Regions from separate parts of the Homo sapiens genome. Here region 2 is linked to region 1. Evidence: promoter capture Hi-C in human tissues and cell types (Jung and others, 2019). All regions are on one chromosome and are shown on one strand. Each heading gives the region's core, a stretch centred on a gene start or on the middle of the fragment in contact. The rest is flanking DNA. Distances are from core to core; before and after follow the strand shown.

What was found. The method cuts DNA at HindIII sites, captures the fragments that hold promoters and counts their contacts. A contact is called where the count stands out against the background at its distance.
Region 2: a contact is called between a fragment that was not itself captured here and the fragment with the promoter of SNAPC3 in region 1, in 1 of the 25 tissues and cell types used here (H1 embryonic stem cells).

Annotation. Positions count from the first base shown.
Region 1 is chr9:15,418,925-15,426,005 of GRCh38, reverse strand. It overlaps SNAPC3 (small nuclear RNA activating complex polypeptide 3), which reads right to left and starts at 3,130. Exons shown (of 9, transcript NM_001039697.2): 1 at 2,813-3,130; 2 at 2,020-2,097. The coding sequence starts at 3,126. RefSeq lists enhancers at 2,654-2,773, 6,584-7,081 and a silencer at 3,114-3,403. The HindIII fragment of the contact is 4,082 bases long and covers 1,255-5,336 here.
Region 2 is chr9:15,104,080-15,111,160 of GRCh38, reverse strand. No RefSeq gene overlaps it. Among named protein-coding and RNA genes, the nearest start is that of FREM1, 200 kb to the right of the region's middle. The HindIII fragment of the contact is 4,463 bases long and covers 975-5,437 here.

The sequences.
Region 1 (7,081 bases), core at 1,881-4,380:
CCTGTAATCCCAGCTACTTGGGAGGCTGAGGCAGGAGAATCACTTGAACCTAGGAGGCGGAGGTTGCCGTGAGCCGGGATCGCACCATTGCACTCAGGCCTGGGCAACAAGAGTGAAATTCCATCTCAAAAACAAAACAAAATGAAAACAGCAAGGTCCACTCCTTAGAGGCCTTTGTGAGCCACTACAGACTCAGGACTTCAGCCTAAGGGACATCAAAAGGTTTTAGGCAAGGGAGTGACAATCAGATGTGCATTTTAGACAAATACAACTAATCAATCAACAATAGTTACAGAGCACCAATTGGAGCAAGGCAGTATAGTAGGCTTGAGAACAATACACAGATGGGAGTTTGGACTCTCATTGAGCCTTCAAGGACTTTAGAAATGTTAAGAGTTTAAGGCAGTATAAATGCATCTGTTTCCTAAGGGAAAGATGGGTTGTGGTAATCTGGAAAGGAATCTTTGGGCTTTTAAAAAAGTGGTATGGGCAAGGTGTGGCGGCTCACGCATGTAATCCTAGCACTTTGGGAGAACGAGTTGGGCAGATCACATGAGGTCAGGAGTTGAAACCAGCCTGGCCAACATGGTGAAACCCGTCTCTACAAAAAATGCAAAAAAGTTAGGCAGCCGAGGGTGCAGGCACCGGTAATCCCAGCTACTCCGGAGGCTGAGGCAGGAGAATCGCTTGAACCCGGAGGCAGAAGTTGCAGTGAGCAGAGATCACGCCACTGCACTCCAGCCTGGGCAACAGAGTGAGACTGCATCTCAAAAAAATAACGTAACATAACATAACATAGAAGTGGTATGTTTCAGATGGGAGAGAGGCCACATGCATCCTGAGCCATCTGAAAGAGAAAGTGGTTGAAAATAAATCTGGAAAGGCAAATTTGGGATATATGTGGAAGGCTTCAAATGTCTAGCTAAGGAGTTTGAAATTTTTCCATATAGGAGATGTAGGGCCATAGACCATTTTTAAGCAAAATGGCTTGCTCAGGCGACAGCATGATGGATAAATCAGTGGGAGAAATGACTGTACTTATCAAAGACACTTAAGAACCTTGCACAGTGCTCCAGGTGTTGCTGCTGTAAAAGTCAGCAGTAGGGACCAGGGGAACAGATTTAGCAGTTATTATGAAAGAAAACCCAAGTAGAGTTGAAATGACTGCCTGAATATTTGAGGGGGATAATAGCGTAGGATCAAGAACGACAGAACATAGCTGAGGTAGTATGAAATAAGTGGACTATAAATTGGAAATTATAAATTTCACTATTACATGCACAATTTCTCTATATTATCATACAACAGTGCCTCTCAAAGAGTGGTAGGCAGACCAGAATTCATCTATGACCTATTTGTTAACCAATCTGTACAGAAAATGACAGTAAGCATTTAGAAACTTCCATTATCATTGAATAATTTTGTCTATTGAATTTAATTAAAAATTTGAACTTATATTGTGTTTGTCTTTTTTAATTCCATTTTTCTAGTAATTCTTTTTATAGTATTTTATCAAAGCATAAATCTGTCAAAGATTAAAAATTTTTAAAAACAAGAACTGTCCTTTACCACAAATAGTTTGAAAAACACTGTCAGAGTATTTAGGTTGCCCCCCAGATCTAAGTAGATTACCTCTATAAACAAACATTCAAAAATATTAAAAAATAAACACAAGTTTGAATATGGACTGAATATTATAGATTATGTATTTACGGTTTTCTTAGGTATAATAATACCACAATAATTATGTAGGAGAATGATACTTTTAGAAGCTATATGCTTATGTATTTACGGGTAAATTATCATGTCTAACTTACTGAATGGGGGATAGCAAAATGAAAAAACACACAGCAGGCATCCCATACACACGGCTAAAGTAAATATGGTCAAATATTAAGAACAGCTGAATTTAAGGGGTGGGTATACAGACAACAATCAATACTGCACTTTCAACTTTTCAAAACATAATGTTGAAAAAATGTTTAAATAAATAGGTCATAAAAACCAAGTCCTCCATACCCCAAAGTCACCAGGTCAGTATTCTCCGGAATGACTTCTGGATCCTCACCGTCCTCAAGGCATTTCAGTTTATCAAGGCTAAAACAAAAAGGAAAAGCAATACTTTAAGGTCGACTCTGCATCTGGTTCACAGCGAGTTAGGGTTGTTTTCCTAAATACATTACTGAATTACGAAGTCAGATAAAATCCAGCAGGCGGCTCAGAGAGGCCAGAACTTAAGACAACGATTTCTGTGATTATATTTTATAATGAAAAGGCCGATGAAGGCAGCCAGTACTGTTAAATGGAGAAAGAGATTAAAGTTATTTTTATATTTTCATCCCCAAATAAGGCACTTTTAAGAAATATTTCAGTAACAGAATACCCGGAAGGTCCCCAAAAGAAACCAGTTAGTCGGGGTTTTAACACTCCTCTGATGAAGTCTCCCGCAGCTTCACCATTACTCAGGTTCCTCCATTGTCAAAGTGTCTGTCAATGGCAGGTACACGTCGCTGTTGCCCTGATTGCTTTTCTTTATTAACAAGCACTCTTAGAATAAGCAAATGGAAAAACTAGTCTTTGATGCAGCTGTCTTGTCCCTTTGCTCCAACTCGTAGAAACTGTGCATTCGGGTCCCAGGACTTCTCCTGGTGTCCCAGGAAGGCTCCAGCGGGTTGAAAGCTTTAAAGGGTAATACTCCTAGCCCAGGTCTAAACCACAGGCCCTTCTCAGGGATGAGTCCCAGAGGAGCGCACGAGCAAGGCTGCACCCTGTTTGACCCCAAGCTGCAAGAGCCCCTTTGCTCCGCACTCACCCGCACACCGCCCTCAGCTCAGCCGCCGCCTCCAGGCTGCAGTCCAGATCCCTGGCCACCGCGGCATCCTCCCGGTCGGAGTCAGCTGCCTGGCTCCCAGGCAGAGCGGATGCCGGCGGCTCCCTCAGCGACAAGTCCCCGGCCCCGCGCAGACGGCCCCGCCACAGCTCCCCAAAGGCGCCCACATGGAAAGCGCGCGTATTTAGCTCGGGAAGCTCATACTCTGGAAAGTTGCAGCCGCCACTGCCGGAGACTGGGTCCTGCCTGCCACCCACCCCGCTACACGTAGGGCCACCTCGGCTTCCTTCAGCCATGTTCGCCCCACTCCTTCCCCTGCAAAAGCCTGCAGATCAAGGCCTCGCAGAGCGTGATGGAAGTTGTAGTTGCTTGGGGCGCCCGGCCGGCGAGCGGCGAGGCGGCGCGGGCAGGGCATCAGAAACTACATTTCCCGGCAGGCCATGGGCAGGCCCGCCCCAGGGCGCGGCACCGCGAGGCTCTACGTGCAGGGCGCAGCATTGTTCTCCGACCCGGGCGGTGCGGGAACCGTTGCGGCTGTCGGTTAACCGCAGCGGGTGGGGCTGGGTTTCTGGTCCCCGAGTTACGTAGCAACTGTCTCTGCCCGGTAGGGCGGCCTCGCCAGGCGCTTAGGCCCCGTTCCTTGCGGCTTTCGGACTAAGGGGTGCAGGGCTTTTTCTTGACTGGGGTTCAAGGACTGCTCTGCTGCCTGATTGCTTTAGAGCCTAAGAAACAAGGAGGGCGAGGGCCGAGACCAGGGACACGACCAGCCCTCCAGATCTGGTTCTTTCACAAGCTCCGCAGAGGCCCCATGTTGGTGTGCGTGTGCAGTAGTGTTTCAGAGCGTCTGTGTATCACACGCTACATGATTAACCCTAATGTATGTTTTTAATGTTTTTAAAAATTACAACAACCTTTCCGGATAGGGCGTATCACCCCGTGTTGCTGTTGAGGAAGGATTTACCTGCGGGGAAAATAGAAGCAGGATCGGAACTCAGTCTGGCTTCAGATGGAGCTCTCTCCATTTCTCAGAGGCCCTGAAGGATACAGCAGGACATACTATTTATTTATTAGACTGTAATCACATGCCATATAATTCACCCATTTGAAGTGTTCAGTGATTTTTGGTATATTCACAGGCTTGGGCAACCATCACCACTATTTGAGAGCATTTTTACCACTCGAAAGAAGAAACTTGTACTTTTTAGCTATCACCCCTGATCCTCCCAACTCCTCCAGCCCTAGCCAACCAAGAACCTACTTTGTCTCTCTAGATTTAACTAATCTGGACATTTAATATAAACGGAATTATATGGTCTTTTGGTGGCTGGCTTAATGTTTACAAGGTTTGTTACAGGTAGTTAGGCATGAGCAGGGCAGGAGAGGGCTCTTCCCTCACCCACTAGGAATGTGGGGTGATGCTTAGGCATTTATCACATTGCCTCTAAAAGTGATAAATTGGCAGCCGGTGCCAGGGAGAGGCCATTTCCTGATGGCCCACACCTGTTGCACTAAAGTGCTCGTTGAATGCAGGTGACAGGGAGAAGCAACTTCCTGGGCATATGCATTAAGAGACAAAATCGGGGAGTATGACCTTTCAGGGGGACTCTATCGGAAAAGGGAAGAAAGCCTCAGATGGGCACGCATACAACTTCATACATATTGCGCTGTGCTCACTTCCCAAGGGTAAGGAGGGCACTGCGCATGGAGGCAGCCCACCCTAAGGGAAGAATCATGGGAAAGGAGCCAGCCTGTAAAGTCCTAGGATCGAGGTCAATATCACAGTTGACCTCAGTGACAGCTTGGGACTCTTCCGAGCGTGCTTTCCTTTCTTTCCTAAAGGCCTTTTAAATAAGCTTCCACTCCTGCTCTGAAACTTGCCTCAGTCTCTTTTTGTGCCTTATTGCCCCTCGGTCAAATTCTTTCTTCTGAGGAGGCAAGAACTGAAGTTGCTGCAGACCCATACAGATTTGCCCTGGTAACTTGGATACCTGCCACCTGTAACACGTTCATCCATTTTGTAGTATGTGTCAGTACTTCATTCCTTTTTTGGCTGAATAATATTGCATTGTATGTATATGCCACATTTTATTTATCAAAAAGTTTTTACCTTTTGGCGTTGCTATGAACATTCATGTACACATTTTTGTGCAAATACGTTTTCATTTCTCTTGGGCATGTGCCCAGTAGTATACAGTCAGCCCTCCCTATCTGTGGGTTCTGCATCCTCCAATTCAACCAACCACATATCAAAAATTACAGTATTCCCAGGTTGCAGAACCTGAGGATAAGAGGAATTTTCCTATGGGCGGATTCCACAGGGCTGACTGCAAGAAGAGCATCTGTCAATTTTGGAGTCCACAGGGGTCTTCGAAACAGTCCACCCTGCAGATACCAAGGGATTTCTGTATTTATGGAACTCTATTTTCAACTATTTGAGGAACTGCCAGATTTTTTTAAAGTGGCTGTCCCATTTTACTCCCCTCCCCAGCAGGATTCTCCACATCCTTGCCAACACTTATCTGAACTTTTTATTATAACCGTGTCAGTGAGTGTGAAATGGTGTTTCATGACTTTTTATTTGCATCTCCCTAATTATATTGATGGAACACGTTTTCATGTGCTTATTGACCATTTGCATATTTCTTTGGGGAAATGTATATTCAAGTTCTTTACCAATTTTTAAATAAAGTTATTGTGTTTCCATAGGAGCTCTGGTTTTTTTTTTCTTTCTTTTTTTTTTTTTTTTTTTTTGTTTTGAGACAGAGTTTCCCTCTTATTGCCCAGGCTGGAGTGCAATGGTGCGATCTTGGCTCACCGCAACCTCTACCTCCTGGGTTGGAGCGATTCTCCTGTCTCACCCTCCTGAGTAGCTGGGATTACAGGTGCATTCCACCACACCTGACTAATTTTTTTGTATTTTTAGTAGAGATGGGATTTCATCATATTGGTCAGGCTGGTCTAGAACTCCTGACCTCAGGTGATCCGCCCACCTCTGCCTCCCAAAGTGCTGGGATTACAGGCGTGAGCCACTGCGCCCGGCCTTCTGGTTGTTTTGTTGTTGTTTGTTTGTTTGAGATAGTGTCTTGCTTTGTCACCCAGACTGGAGTGCACTGGCACAATCAAGGCTCACCGCAGCGTGTCAGGCCTCTGAGCCCAAGCTTAGCCATTATATCCCCTGTGACCTGCACATATACATCTAGATGGCCTGAAGCAACTGAAGAACCACAAAAGATGACATTCCACCATTGTGATCTGTTCCTGCCCCACCCTAACTGATCAATTGACCGTATGACAATACACCCTCCCCGCCCTTGCGATAACGTACTTTGTAATATTCTCCCTGCCCTTGAGAATGTACGTTGTGAGATCCACCCCCTGCCCACAAAAAAATTGCTCCTAACTCCACCGCTTATCCCAAACGTATAAGAACTAATGATAGGCTGGGTGCCGTGGCTCACGCCTATAATCCCAGCACTTTGGGAGGCCGAGGCAGGAGGATCACAAGATCAGGAGTTCGAGACCAGCCTGGCCAATATGGTGAAACCCCTTCTCTACTAAAAATACAAAAATTAGCTGGGCGTGGTGGCAGGTGCCTGTAGTTCCAGCTACTTGGGAGGCTGAGGCAGGAGAATCGCTTGAACCTGGGAGGCAGAGGTTGCAGTGAGCTGAGATTGCGCCATTGCACTGTAGCCTGGGCGACAAAGTGAGACTCCGTCTCAAAAAAAAAAAAAAGAAAAAACTAATGATAATTCCATACCCTTTGCTGACTCTCTTTTCAGACTCAGCCCGCCTGCACCCAGCTTTATTGCTCACACAAAGCCTGTTTGGTAGTCTCTTCACACTGACGCGTGTGACACAGCGTAGACCTCCCAGGCTCAGGTGATCCTCCCATCTTAATCTCCTGAGTAGCTGGGACTACAGGTACGCTGTCATCACATCCAGTTAATTTTTTTATTTTTTTAGAGAAGAGGTTTCACCATGTTGCCCAGGCTGGTCTTGAACTCCTGGGCTCAAGTTATCCTCCTGCCTTGGCCTCCCAAAGTGCTGGGATTACAGGTATGAGCCACCATGCCCAGCTGGAGCCCTGGTTTTTATCAGTACATTGTTGTAGGAAATATCTATCGTTTTTGTCAGCCTAGTATTGTTTATTAGAGCTGACCTTCCCTACTACTTTTGATCCTCCTGGGGCTGCCAGTCATAGAACCATTCCCAATCTGGCCACAGTGGTTGGTCCAAGGATGATCAAGTGTC
Region 2 (7,081 bases), core at 1,957-4,456, 310 kb after region 1:
ATAAAAAGCAAAATCATTTTATTGCCAGTAAAAATCTTCTAGGTTTAGTCAGAGCAAATTATAATTTCTGGTGCTTCTTGACTCATTAGTTCTTCCAGATGGTGCATGTAAACATGGCAGGAGCTGCAAAGAGTGTGAAGGCCGAAATGTAAATCAAGCAATAAGTATTCATTATAATTTGTGTGACAAATGGAAAGCCTATAAAGCGAAGCAGTGCATTGCTCGATCAATTTCATCCCATTACTCTTGGGATCCCCCAGAGACTATTTTCGGAAACAGACTCCCCAATTTTGTCAAGGTCAATTGTCATTACAGTGTTTAGAGGAGTCCTCAGATGCCTCGCAGATAAGCTTGAGTCATCATAGCTGCATTCTTTCTGCTCTTGATAATCTATGGGTTGTCCTTAGTTCTTCAAGAAGCATGAAGAAACAAGAGGAAAATATGACTTTAAAATGTTGAGGTTATTTGAAAAGGAAGAGAAGGCTTGTTGCAAGTGTTCCCATACCCACTGTATTGGAAGTAATCCTGCCTTGCCCAAATTCCCCCTTCCCCAGGATCCAGGTATACATCCCACTGTCCTGCTGGGAGTATTGATGACTGATGGGTCTCAACTGAGGTCCTGAAGAGATCTTCCTGGCCCAAGGTCACATGCCTTCTGAGCAGCTGCATTTATTGACTGGCTAATGGGTAAGAAAGAAGGACCAGACTCCTGATCCCACTTTCTAGCCCCTCTCCAACTTCAGACAACTATGATTGGCCTTCTCAGCTCCAGAGCTCCTCATAGGGTCAGCTGAGGCCTTTGTTGCAAATGAATTTCAGTTCGACTTTTTGCCCAATTTTTAGTGGTTATATAGCCCCCAATATAAGAAGCAACATGCAGCGGTAGAAAAGGCACCAGATCATGAATCAGAATACCCGGGGTCTAAAGCAAGCTTTGTTACTGTTGAGCAATGAGATCTTGGAGAAAATAATTTGCCTTCTCTGTTCCTTATTTTTCTTATCTTTCAAGTATAAAGCTTAGCCTAGCCTAGCAGTTCTTACCTATGCATCTCTCCCAGTGGATGTCCTTTGACTCCCTGAAATTATATACAATGTCTATGTATTTTTCTGGCAAGGTTAGGGGCATAACTTTCATTAGGTTCTTGAAGGTCTCCACAGAATTTTTTTCTATTGTGGTAAAAAAAATACATAACATATACTTTACCATCTTAACAATTTAAACAATGTTCAGTTCAGTAGTGTTAAATATATTCATATTATTGTGAAACAGATCTCCAGAACTTTTTTATCTTACAAATCTGAACTCTATACCCATTAAATAACTCTTTTTCCTCCTCCTCTTAGCTTCTGTTAACCACCATTCTACTTTCTGCTTCTATAAATTTGACTACTCTAAGTACCTTATGTAAGTAAAATCATATACTATTTGTCTTTTTGTTGTTGGCTTATTTCACTTAGCATAATGTCCACAAGGTTCGTTCATGTTGTAGCATGTGACACCACTTCCCTTTTTTAAGGCTGAATAATATTTCATTGTAGGTATATACTATGTTTTGTTTATTCGTTCATCAGTTGATGGACATTTGGGTTGCTTCCACTTCTTGGCTGTTCTGAATGGTACTGCTGTGGATATGGGCATCAAATATCTCATCGAGACTCTTCCCTTCCCTTTCCTTGTCCCTCCCTCCCTCCTTCCCTCCCTTCCTTCCTTCCTTCCTTCCTTTCTTTTCTTGATATGGGGTCTTGCTCTGTCGCCCAGGCTGGAGTGCGGTGGCATGATTATATCTCACTGCACCCTCAACCTCTCAGGCTCAAGGAGTTTCCTCCAGCCTCAGCCTCCTCAGTAGTTGGGACAGGCATGCACCACTATACCTGGCTAATGTTAAAAATTTTGTAGAGATGAGGTCTCACTATGTTGCCCAGGCTGCCCTTGAGCTCCTGAGCTCAAGTGATCCTCCTGCCTCAGCCTTCCCAAGTGCTAGGATTATAGGTGTGAGCCATTGCACCTGGCTATCCCTACTTTCAATTCTTTTGCATATAAACCCAGAAGTGGGATTCCTGGCTCATATAGCAGTTCTATCTTAACATTTTTTAGGAATCTCCATATGGTTTTGTATAGTGGTTGCATCATTGTACAATTCTATCAGCAATGTGCAAGGGTTCCAATTTCTCCATGTTTTGCTATCTTAGTCTGATTTCTGTTGTTTATAACAGAATACCTAAAACTGCATGGATAAAAGAAATTTCTTTTTCCTTTTTTTTTTTTTCTGGAGGCAGGGTCTTGCTCCATCACCCAGGCTGGAAGGAATTTATTTCTTAGAGTTATGGAGGCTGAGATGTCCAAAGTCAAAAGCCTGCATCTGGTGAGAGCCTTCTTGCTGACGGGGATTCTCTGTAGTCCCAAGATGGCACAGGGCATCACCTGGCAAGGAAGCTGAGTATCCTAGTTCAAGTCTCTCCTCCTCTTCTTATAAAGCCACTAGTCTCATTCCCATGCTAACCCATTAATCCATTAGTCCATTAATCCACTAATGAACGCAGAGCCTTCATGACCCAATAACCTCTTAAAGGCTCCACCTCTCAATACTACCACATTGGGGATTAAATTACAACATGAGTTTTGGAGGACAAATATTCAAACCATAGCACTTGCCAGCGCTTACTATTTTTTTTAATAGTAGTCATTCTGATGGGTGTGAGGTGATCTCCTCATTGAAGTTTTCATTTGCATTTCCCTGATGCTGAGCATCTTTTCACATGTGTGTTGACCATCTGTATGTCATCTTATGACAAATGTCTATTCAAATCCTTTACCCCTACCCACCTTTTCTTTTTCAGGCAGGGTTCCACTCTGTTGCCCAGGCTGGAGTGCAGTGGTGTGATCTCGGCCCACAGCAGCCTCAACCTCCTGTGCTCAAGTGATTCTCCCACTTCAGCCTCCTGAGTAGCTGGGACTATAGGTGTGCACCATCACACCCAGCTAATTTTTATATTTTTTGTAGAGACGGCTTTTTGCCGTGTCACCTGGGCTAGTCTCAGACTCCCGAGCTCAAGCGACCCGCCTGCCTCAGCCTCCCAAGGTGTTGAAATTACAGGCATGAGCCACTGTGCCTGGCCTGTCCATTTTTTAATTGGGTTATTTGTATTTTTGTTGTTGTTGTTGCTGAGTTGTGGGAATTCTTTATATATTCTGGATATTAACCCCTTATTAGATCTATGATTTCCAATGATTTTCTCCCATTCTGTGGGTTACCTTTTCACTCTGTTGATTGTGTCCTTTGATAAACAAAAGTTTTAAACTTTGATATATTCCAATTTGCCTATTTTGCTCTTGCTGGCTGTGCTTTTAGTGTCATATCTAAGAAATTATTGGCAAATCCTAATCATGAAGATTTTTTTTTCTAGGAATTGTATTATTTTTGGTCTTACATTTAGGTCTTCAATCTATTTTGAGTTAAGTTTTGTGTATGGTGTAAGATAAGGGCCCATTTTTATTCTTTTGCATGTGGATGTTCAATTTTCCCAACAACATTTGTTGAGGAGACTGTCCTTCCTCCACTGAGTGGTCTTGGCACCCTTGTTGAAGATTATTTGACTGTATATACGAGCATTTATTTCTGGGCTCTCTATCCTATTCTTTTGGTCTATTGTCTGTCTTTATGCCAGTATCACACTGTTTTGATTACTGTAGCTTTGTAGTATGTTTTGAAATCAAAAGTATGAGTCCTCCAAATATCTCCTCCTTTTTCAAAATTGTGTTGGCTTTTTGGGATCCCCTGAGATTCCATATTGATTTTAAGATGATTTAAGATGAATTTTTTTATTGCTACAAAAAATGCTGTTGTATTTTTTGATAAGAATTGCTTTGAATCTGTAGATTGCTTTTGGGTAGTATGTCCATCTTAACAATATTAAATCTTCCAATCCCCAAACACTGGGAGCCTTTCCATTTATTTGTGTCAACTTTAATTTCATTTAGTAATAGTGATATTTTCTAGTTTTCAATGTATAAGCTTCTCACTTCCTTGGTTAGGTTATTCCCAAGCATTTTATTCTTTTTGATATTATTATAAATGGAATCGTTTTCTTAATTTCCTTTTCAGATTGTCCATTGTTAGTATATAGAAATACAATGGGTTTTTTTGTGTCAATTTTGTATCCTGCAATTTATACTGAATTTATTAATTCTAACAAGGTTTCTTTTGGTGCGAAATCTTTAGAGTTTTTTACATATAAAATCGTGTCATCTGTGAACAGTGATAATTTTAACACCTTTCCAATTTGGATTTCTTGTATTTCTTTATTTATCTATTTTTTTTTTTGAGACAGAGTCTCGCTCTGTCACCCAGCCTGGAGTACTATAGCATGATCTCGGTTCACTGCAACCTCTGCCTCCTGGGTTCAAGCAATTCTCCTGCCTCAGCCTCCTGAGTAGCTGGGATTACAGACATATGCCACCACGCCTGGCTAATTTTTGTATTTTTAGTAGAGACGGGGTTTCACCATGTTGGTCAGGCTGGTCTCCAACTCCTGACCTCGTGATCCGCCTGCCTCGGCCTCCCTAAGTGCTAGGATTACAGGCGTGAGCCACTGCACCCGTCTGTATTTCTTTTTCTTTCCTAATTGTTCTGTTCTTGTTTAATTGTTCTGGCTATGACTTCCAATACTATGTTGAATAGGAGTGGGGAGAGCAGTTATTAAGCCTTTTTCCTTATCTTAGAAGAAGAGCTTTCAGTCTTTCACCATTGAGTGTAATGTTAGCTGTAGGCTTTTCATAAGTGGCTTTTATTATTATTTTATTTTTTTGAGACAGAGTCTTGCTTTGTTGACCAGGCTGGAGTACGGTGGCAGGATCTCAGCTCTCTGCAACCTCTGCCTCCCAGGTTCAAGTGATTCTCCTGCTTCAGCCCCCTGAGTAGCTGGGACTATAGGTGTGCACCACCACGCCTGCTAATTTTGTATTTTTAGTAGAGATGGGTTTCACCATGTTGGCCAGGCTGGTCTCGAACTCCTGACCTCAAGTGATCCACACGCCTCGGCTTCTCAAAGCATTGGGATTAGAGGCATGAGCCACTGTGCCTGGCCTCATAAATGGCTTTTCTTATGTTGAGGTAGTTTCCTTCCTGTCCAGGTTTATTGAATGATTTTTATCATGAAAGGGTGTTGAATCTTGTCAAATGTTTTTTCTCTATCAATTGAGATGATGATGTCATTTTTGTCTTCCATTCTGTTATTGTGGTATATTACATTGATTAAATTTTGTATGCAAAACTCTCCTTGCTTTTCATGAATAAGTCCCACTTGGTCATGGCATATAATCCTTTTAATGTGCTGTTGAACAGTTTGCTAGTATTTTCTTGAGGATTTTTACATCAATATTTATTAGGGATACTGGTTTGTAGTTTTCTTTTCTTGTAATTTCTTTGTCTGGTTTTGGTATCAGAGCCTAATAGAATGAGCTTAGAAGTGTTCCTCTTTAATTTTTTGGAAGAGTTTCAGAATTGATGTGAATTCTCTTGAAATTGACTTGAATTCTTCTTTAAATGTTTGGTAGAGTTCTCCAGTGAAGTCATCTGGTCCTGGGCTTTTCTTTGTGGAGAGATTTTTGATTACTGTTTCAATAATTTACAAGTTTCTGATCTCTTCAGATTTTCTATGTCTTCATGATTCAGTCTAGGTAGGGTGTGTGTTTCTAGGAATTTATCCATTTCTTTTAGGTTATCCAATTTATTGACATACAACTGCTGAATTGTTGTTTTGTTCTTCGTATAGCTTCTATCTCTGTTTGATATTCACATTTTGTTCATATGTTGTTTTTCTGATTTCATTTAGTTGTCTATCTGTTCTCTTTTAGTTTATTGAGTATCTTTATGACAGTTATTTTAAATTGTTTGTCAAATAACTCATACATCTGCATTTCTTTAGGGTTGGTTTATGTAGTTTTAGTTTGCTCCTTTGATTGGGTTATGTTTCCGTGTTTCTTTGTACATCTTGTAAATTTTTTTCTTTTTTGGCTGGGATTTGGGCATTTGAAAAAGCACCCACCTCTAACAGTCTGCATACTGGATTTGTTCAGGTGGAACCCGTCACCAGTCAGTCTACTTATCTGTTCAAGCACCTTTCAAACCTTTTCTGATCTCTTGCTCCCCCTGGCATCTGCCTGTAGAACTGCACATCTAATGTGCTGCTAGACTTTGTTTTCAGCAGCGTCTGATCCTGCCTCTGCTCTAAGTCAAGCAAAACCAGACTCTCAGACAGCCCCCCTACATGCCAGAACTTTGAGTGCAAAGTCTGCTCTTTTGTTTCTGTTCTGAGGAAGGACCCTCAGTTTGAAGATTTCCTCCCAATTTCTCCATACTATACTGTGAATGTGCAGAAGCATGAACTGGTGCACCAACTGCCATAAGGCTTTCTACCCCTTTTCTGGAATCCTTTCTTCATTTTACAATGGCCTGGGTGCTATAGCATCTCACCTGGTCTCTGGAGTTCTCACAGGGGCATTCTGGTCCATATACTGTTGTTAACTTGGTGTCTCTGTAGGGGAAAGAAGGGCCTGTAGCTTCCTAGTCCATCATCTTGCTAACATCACTCTGACACCTATTTCTTCTGCAGACATTTAGGAATCAAAACACTAGGTGATTATCAAGTCATATTGACTACAGCTAAAAAACAGTGCCTCTATGTCTACTACATGAATTAAGATAAAAAATATTGAGCATCAGTGTTTCTCCATGGAATCTATAGTGAAGAGGCTTTGGCTCCTAGAGAGTGGAACCAAGTAGGTAGAAAAGAATTTTCAATCCAGGGAGAATGAGAACAGCTGGAGAAGTAGGCAATTTTTCTAGCAGTTCATAGGGGAAGCTTCTAGAAAAACCTGCAAAGAACTCTGATTCATTTGATATCCAGGAAGTGGGGATTCTGAAGGATCTGCTTCAGTGGATCTGAGAATGTATCAGGCTGCCTATAGCTCTATCCAGGTGATCACAAGATCAAGGTGACATCTGTGCTAAGGGAGATTTGAAGAGCACCTCTTTAGTCAGCAGCTTATTGGAGGAAATGAATGTCTCCTAAAAGGAAATAT